Linked DNA regions of Homo sapiens: all the other regions are linked to region 1. The links are contacts of gene promoters, found by promoter capture Hi-C in blood cells and fetal thymus (Javierre and others, 2016). All regions are on one chromosome and are shown on one strand. Each heading gives the region's core, a stretch centred on a gene start or on the middle of the fragment in contact. The rest is flanking DNA. Distances are from core to core; before and after follow the strand shown.

What was found. Contacts are between HindIII fragments. The CHiCAGO score rates a contact against its expected background, and 5 or more counts as called.
Region 2: a contact is called between a fragment that was not itself captured here and the fragment with the promoter of ZNF223 in region 1, in 1 of 17 cell types (naive CD8 T cells). The highest score is 5.3, in naive CD8 T cells.
Region 3: a contact is called between a fragment that was not itself captured here and the fragment with the promoter of ZNF223 in region 1, in 1 of 17 cell types (erythroblasts). The highest score is 5.0, in erythroblasts.

The regions. Positions count from the first base shown.
Region 1 is chr19:44,050,710-44,053,352 of GRCh38, reverse strand. It overlaps ZNF223 (zinc finger protein 223), which reads right to left and starts at 1,317. Exons shown (of 5, transcript NM_013361.6): 1 at 1,158-1,317. RefSeq lists enhancers at 1,091-1,330, 1,150-1,651 and a silencer at 1,371-1,430. The HindIII fragment of the contact is 18,414 bases long and covers 1-2,643 here.
Region 2 is chr19:43,845,885-43,848,527 of GRCh38, reverse strand. ZNF283 (zinc finger protein 283) reads right to left here. Exons shown (of 7, transcript NM_181845.2): 7 at 1-1,589. Among named protein-coding and RNA genes, the nearest start is that of ZNF283, 20 kb to the right of the region's middle. The HindIII fragment of the contact is 2,596 bases long and covers 54-2,643 here.
Region 3 is chr19:43,870,149-43,872,791 of GRCh38, reverse strand. ZNF404 (zinc finger protein 404) reads left to right here. Exons shown (of 3, transcript NM_001033719.3): 3 at 1-427. The coding sequence ends at 237. Among named protein-coding and RNA genes, the nearest start is that of ZNF404, 12 kb to the left of the region's middle. The HindIII fragment of the contact is 3,147 bases long and covers 1-2,643 here.

The DNA of each region.
Region 1 (2,643 bases), core at 68-2,567:
CTCCCCACCATTACCCTATAGTCCTTCCACATCCCCCTCACCAAGATAGTAGAGATAGTGATCAATAAATACTGAGGGAACTCAGAGACCAGTGCCGGTACAGGTCCTCATTTGCTGAGCGCCGGTCCCCTGGGCCCACTTTTCTTCCTCTATACTTTGTGTCTGTGTCTTATTTCTTTTCTCAGTTTCTCATTTCCACCTTGTGAGAAACACCCACAGGTGTGGAGAGGCAGGCCCCCTTCAATATCAAACTCCAAATGAACAACTATGGAAATGTGACAGCTAAAGACAACGCATAAACTGGACTTTGAATAGGTGAAGGGTGGGGCAGAGGACAGTCATAAGGACTTTAAATGAAAAATTTAACAAATTCGTATATGGAACTGCAGATTAGATAACATGATGCTAGGTAATATGCTATCCAACACTATCTAGTAAGTACACTACAAATACTAGTATTCTTTTAACACATCTATCTGACATGTAATCGGTAACAGTATTATTTAACATAATATCCAATATTATCTACCATGTTATGTGAAACCCTATAACCAGCCCTTCCTAAATGCCTCTTACCAAGACACCCCACAATTACCGTGGTATGTGGGCTTCCTTGCTGCAGAAAGCTACCAATCAGCTGTCTCTGGTTACAGGTATGTTCCTGGTGGTATTTGGTTGATGGTCATCAACAAAGCAAACAGGAAAAATGTAAACACTTGGCAAATTTGGGTAAAGGGTATATGAGAATTTCTTATACTGTTTTTGCAATTTTTCTATAGCTTTGAAATGATATCAAACGTTTTAAAATATCAGGCAACAAGAGACCACTCACCAAGTGACAGGGACAACTTTAAGGCTTTCATTTGTATTATCTCTTTCAATTCGCAAAACAATTCTATTAGGATGACCCTATAAGCACCATTTTAAAGAACAGCAATGGGAAGTACAGAGACATTAACATTCCACATCACACTGCGAGAAAGAGTGTACACACTGCATACGTAGGGAGGCGGACTGAGCGAGGTCAAAGTCCTGGAAACCCTCAGAGCAGGGCACACAAGGCCACCCCAATCCCACCCCCCGGGAGGCGAGCAAAGCCCCCCGACGCCAGAAGGCTCCGCTGACGGGAACAATAAACACCCTCCCCGCCCTCGCACCTCTAAACCTCTGCTCTTCGCCAAGGCTTCTTTTCCCCTGAGACGATCATCGATCATCGGGTGGTTGCGAGCCTCAAGCAAAGGGGGTTCGTTCAAAATGTCCTGCAAGACGCAGAAATGGCTCAAACTACCCCGGTCATTAAAGCAGGAACCTCAGACTAGGAGACCGGAAGTGTCCTCTCTGCGCCAGAGTGTCTGGACTCCACTCCCCAGAATTCCCCGGACCCGCCCCCCTGAGCCAAAGGGCCCGGGACTCCGCAGAGTGTCTGGACTATCGTTCCCAGAATTCAACGGTTCACCTGCCAGAGCCAAAATACCCAGTGTTCCACGAGCCAGTGGACTACACTTCCCGTAAAATGGACTACTCTTCCCAGAATTCTCCGGAAACGCCTACCTGAGCTGAAGTATCAGGAATCCCGCAAGGTGTCTGGACTGCAGAGCCTCAGATGCAAAAGGAAAATGTCCATCACCTCACCCTTTAGGCTCAAGTGTTGCGACTACATGGTGCTCCTCGATTACACTTCCCGCAACACCCACGGGGAACGAATTTCATAGCCCCAGGTTCCTGGTGGGGAATGCAGACTGTTACCCTGACAGTTGTCCTTCCCAGAGTCCTCGAGCGAAAATATTGAATAGAAAGAATTTATGAAGTCTAAATGTCTCCCATGATTGACAGGAGTGTTCTTGGACAGGGAACAAGCGAGGAGATACAATATTCAAGGAGCTAGATAGAGTGACTGTTGAGCCGTCAGATGGCTGAAAGGAGGCTCAGGGTTTAAAGCAAGGATATCCAACTCCAGGGCCACAGACCTGTACCGGTCCACTGACTGTTAGGAACCGGGCGGCACAGCAGGAAGTGAGCGGCAGGTGAGGGAGCATTATGGCCTGAGCTCCACCTCCTGTGAGATCAGCCCAGCATTACATTCTCATAGGAGCGCGGATCCTATTGTGAACTGTGCGTGCGAAGGATCTAGGTCAGGCGCTCCTTATGAGAATCTAATGGCTGAGGTGGAACAGTTTCATCCCGAAACCATTCCCCAGTCCGTGGAAAAATTGTCTTCCACAAAACCGGTCCATGGTGCTAAAACGGTTGGGGACCACTGGTTTAAAGAATGAGCCAGGTAGAATGGGTTGGGAGGGGCAATGAGAAGCCAGGAAAGCATCAGCCCCTGTAACTGAAAAGTAGATCAGTGGCTTCCCGTTTGCAACGTCCAGTTAACAAGAGGGAGATCTGGTATAAAGAAAGTGATTTATTCTAGAGCTAGCGTAGGGGAAGTAGCACAGGTGTTGTCTTTAAGTGCACGGCTTGGCTTTTAGAGCAGAAAGCAGGCACTTTTAAAAGGTAGGGGAGGAAGAGGGAAGGGGTCTGTGTGCTGGCTTGGTGCCTTATCTATTAGGCAGTTGAGCTGGCTTTTTCATGGGCAGAAATAAGTTGTAACCAGAAGGGAGAGAGTAGCAGGCACGCTTTCAACTGTTGTCTCTTCAG
Region 2 (2,643 bases), core at 102-2,601, 200 kb after region 1:
AAGTTTTGAGCCACAAGTAAAGGTCTTCCCGAATTCCTTACGTTGATAAAGCTTCTCACCAGTATGAAATCTCTGATGAACACTAAGTTGATAGCCACTACCAAAGGCCTTCCCACAGTCTTTACATTCATAAGACTTCTCATTAGTATGGACTCTCTCATGCTTAACTAGGCTTGAACCCCAACTGAAGGCCTTCCCACATTCCTTACATTTGAAAGGTTTCTCACCGGTATGAATTTTCTGATGTTGAGTAAGGTGATAGCCACGACTAAAAGCCTTCCCACATTCTTTACATTCATAGGGTTTCTCCCCTGTATGGATTCTTTCATGTTGAACAAGGCTTGATCCACAATTAAAAGCCTTCCCACATTCCTTACATTCATAGGGTTTCTCACCAGTGTGAAATACCTGATGTCGAGTAAGTTGATACCCACTACAAAAGGTCTTTCCGCATTCTTTACATTCATGGGATTTCTCACCAGTATGAACTCTCTCATGTTTAACAAGGCTTGAACCCCAACTAAAGGCCTTCCCACATTCCTTACATTCAAAAGGTTTCTCACCAGTATGGATTTTCTGATGTTGAGAAAGGTGATAGCCACGACTAAAGGCCTTTCCACATTCTTTACATTCATAAGGTTTCTCACCAGTATGAATTCTTTCATGTTGAATAAGACTTGATCCGCAATTAAAAGCCTTCCCACATTCCTTGCATTCATAGGGTTTCTCACCAGTATGAAATATCTGATGTCGAGTAAGTTGATAGCCCCAACAAAAAGCCTTTCCACATATTTTACATTCATAAGGTTTCTTACCAGTATGGATTTTCTGATGCTGAGTAAGCTGATAGCCACGACTGAAGGCCTTCCCACATTCTTTACATTTATAAGGTTTCTCACCTGTATGAATTATCTCATGTTTAGCAAGGCTTGAGCCCCAAAAAAAGGCCTTCCCACATTCCTTACATTTATAAGATTTCACACCAGTATGAATTTTCTGATGTTGGGTAAGGTGATAGCCACGACTAAAGGCCTTCCCACATTCTTTACATTCATAGGGTTTCTCACCAGTGTGAATTCTCTCATGTTTAACAAGGCTTGATCCCCAGCTAAAGGTCTTCCCACATTCCTTACACTCATAGGGTTTCTCACCAGTATGAAATCTCTGATGCACATTGAGTTGATAGGCACTTAAATAATTCTTCCCACATTCTTTACATTCAAAGTGTTTTTCAGCTGTATGAGTTCTCTCATGTTGAACAAGTTTTGAGCCATGACTGCAAGCCTTCCCACATTCCTTACAAACATAGGATTTCTCTGTATTATGAATTCTTTGATGTGGAGTAAGAGATTTACTTTTTCTGTAAGAAGGTATTTTTTCATAGCTGATTATCATTTGACTGAAGTATCCCTCTTGATGTCCTTTTAGTCCCTCGAATATGCTTTTGCACTTCCAATTATTTCTGAAGATGGATGCCTCAAGGCCAAGGGTTTTACTTTTGTCCTTCATCTCCCACTGGGAAAAATTTATTTCAAAAATATCATTTTCTGAAAATATTTTTTTGGTCTCATACGTTTTTGACTCCAAATCTGAAAGAAAACAAGAAAACCACACATTTTATTTCCTTCACTAGGGAAAAAAAAAAAAAAACTACAGTAGAAATAAAAGACAAATTAGGAGACTTACTGAACTCACTCCTTGGCATTAAGGCACTCCCTTGTTAAATAACAAACTCAGCCTTGATTTTGCAGCTCTTGTGATCTGAATGTTCTGATTTTATAGTTTTCTGGAGGATTCCACAGAGGTCGCTTCAACAAGTCCCTCATTTTCCCACGCTGATGTTCCCTCAAACCAAATGTCAGCTTCCATCAATCAAGCCCTTATGTGCCCAGTTGTGGTCATCCAATGTATCTTAATGGGAATCAAATTCTTATCATAATGAGCTTTGGCTGATTTTGTTTTGTCTAACAACTCTTTTGTCTAACAACTCAATGGTCGCAACTCTGCCATTTTATCAAGGCAGCCATGGGCAATATGTAAACATATAAACAAATGGGCAAGACTATGTTCCAATACAACTTTATTTGCAAAAACAGGTGGATTTGGCCTCCAGAGCCAGAGTTTTCCAACCCCTGAGATAAAGCAAACATTGCTTTCATAAATGTTCACAATTGTAAAAATATAAAGTTCAATTAAATTTTACATTTACTTAGATTTATTAGCCAGAATTTTTATAAAAGGATTGATTTTTATAACTTCATATAATGCTGCAATTATGTGACTCTATAGATTTTACCTTATTTAAAAATTTTAAATGTCTATCAATTTTAAAAATCAACAGTAATTGTATTGCTATTTAAGGATCACTTTAAATTATAAGATCTCCAATTCACTTAGACAAAATGATCTTGAGAGTTACTAATAAATAATTTCTGGTTGCATAAAAAGTTCCTAAGAAGATATTCATAAAAGAGGAAGAACAAATATTTTGAGTTATTTTTCAATTAAGTTTACTTATTTCTTGACCATTGTTAAACATATTTTCACTCAACTAAGCTCAAACTACCCTGTCAAAAATCAATGTGATACACACATCATCTTATAACACATTAATACTGTTAATTATATTTTAAAATTGAAAAT
Region 3 (2,643 bases), core at 84-2,583, 180 kb after region 1:
GCCTTTCGTTCTATCTCAGGTCTTTCTCAACATAAGAGAATTCATACTGGTGAAAAACCCTATGAATGTAAAGAATGTGATAAGGCCTTTAATCGCAGTGATCGACTTACTCAACATGAGACAATTCATACTGGTGTGAAACCACAGAAATGCAAAGAATGTGGTAAGGCCTTTAGTCATTGCTATCAACTTAGTCAACATCAAAGATTTCACCATGGTGAGAGACTCTTAATGTAATGAGAGGGAAAGCCTTTAGCCATGGCACATTTTTACTGTTGTCACTATTATGATGCTATAGTGAAGATTAAACTAGTTAATATAGAATATAAATACTTGGAAAGGCATCTGGCACATCGTATTTGCTTACTAAATACATTATTTTTATGATAATTGTTAGAATTACTAAAAATAAATCTTATAGAAGGAAGACCCTATGAGTGTGATATTTTGAAAATGCTCTATCATCACTTCATATAATTTATTCTGGACAAAATCCTGTAGAATATATTAAATGAGAAATTTTTAAATTCAGAATTCATACCCCTGAAGATTAATGCTGGAATAAATAATGTGTATTTATTGAATAATGAAAGGATAGCTGTTGAAAATTAGAGAGTGGTTTAAAGAAATTTTTTCACAAATCCTATAATACAGATAACACATATTTTGCATCCTCTACAATTAAAATAAATTAGAAATGAACAGTTAGGTAGCCAAAAGACAGATATTAACTTGGAAAAGTTTTCCCTAAGTTTATGAAAATGTTAAGATTTACATCCTTACAGAAAAGGTAGCTGTTTACAGTGGTGCAGTGAAGGCTTGTTTGCCCTTCACCTAGTTTCAGTACATCTGATGTCTCTCTTTTTTATGTGTATACTAACACATATATACACACAAATACATATATACCATGCATGTCTTATGTCTATGTATATACACAGATGCATATATATATATATCATACTTATTACACATGAATATATGTATATATTACATATATCACTTTTCCTGTTTTTTGAGTGAATGTTTTAGGTATCATTCACCTCTAAAAAAAAGGCAACATACAACTGCTAGGATCAAAGATAATCTTCTAGATGTCTACTACACCATTGTCACAAAAAAATTAACAGTAACCCTATAATGTCTTAAAATATTCACTCCATTTGCAAATTTCTCCAATTTTTAAAATAATGTCTTTTAGCACTGTCTTTTTCACAAGCCAAGAACCAAACTAATCTCATATATTTTATATGATTATGGCTTATTAAGTCTCTTTTAGTCAAGAGCCTACCCTTCATCATTTTGTGACATAGACTTTTTGAAGACTTTAGATTTGACCTAAATAGTGTTGCACATGCTGTGTTTGTCTTATTGTTTCTGGAGGTGTGATTAACTTGTTTCTTTGTCCTCTATATTTACTGTGACCTGGAGGTTATGATTAGAGGCTTGATTGGGTTTCAGATTAAACATTTTCAAAAGACTACTTCATAGATAGTATCATGTACTTAATATTGTAAAGTATCAGGTGGCCTACAAGTGAAACTATGTTTTATCCCTTGATTCATGTATTGACCACCAGCTCCTTCCATTGTTATGGGTGAATTTTTTCTTTGCAATTAAATAAGTAATCCATGGAAAGTCATGTTGGAAATTTGAACAGTCTTCTGTATTCTATTTTTAGAGATGGGGTATTGCTATGTTGCCCAGGCTGGAATTCAGTGGCTATTCACAGATGTTATATAGCACACTACAGCCTTGAACTCCTGAGCTCAGGCAATCCTCCTGCCTCAACCTCTGGAGTAGCTGGGACTATAGGCACACAGTGCTACACCCAGTTGCTTAAAGAAATTAAGATGAAAATCCTCATCTTTTATATTTACCCATATATTTACTATTTCCCATGCTGTTTATTTCTTTCCAGAGATCTGAATTTTTCTCTGGTATCATTTCCCTACAGTTTGAGGAACTTAACTTAGCATTTCTTGGAGTGAACGTCTGCTGGTGATGAATTTTCATAGTTTCTTTTACTGAAATGCCTTTATTTTTTAAGGATTTCTTCTGGCTATAGAATTCTGGGTTGGCAGTTTTTTGGAGATATATGAATATATGTGTGTGTATATGCACACACACAAAGAATACACACACATATATATACTCATAAAGAGATATATATTGTTTCATATATGTATATATAAATCACCGACTTCTGGTCTTCAAGTCTCCATAGTTTACAAGAAGAAGTCATTTGAATTGTTTTTTCTCTTATGTAATGTGTCCTTTTTCTCTGGGTGCTTTCCAGATTTTCTTATTACTTTTGGTTTTCAGCTGTTTGAGTATGAGGTGCCTAGGTATGGTTTTCTTTGTGTTAATTCTGCTTGGGGTACTCTGAGCCTCTGAAATTTGCACACATGTGCCTTTCACCAAATTCCAGAAATTCTTGGCCATTATATCTTCAAATATTTTTTCTGCATTTACTCTACTCATACGTTAAATCTTTTGGTACTGTCCCACAGGTCACTGTCTTTGTTATTTATCTTCAGTATTTTTTTTCTGTTCTTCAGCTTGGACAACTTCTGTTACTCTGTTTTCAAATTCACTTATTCTTTTTCTCTGTCATTTCAGTTCTGCTGCTAAGCCTATCTA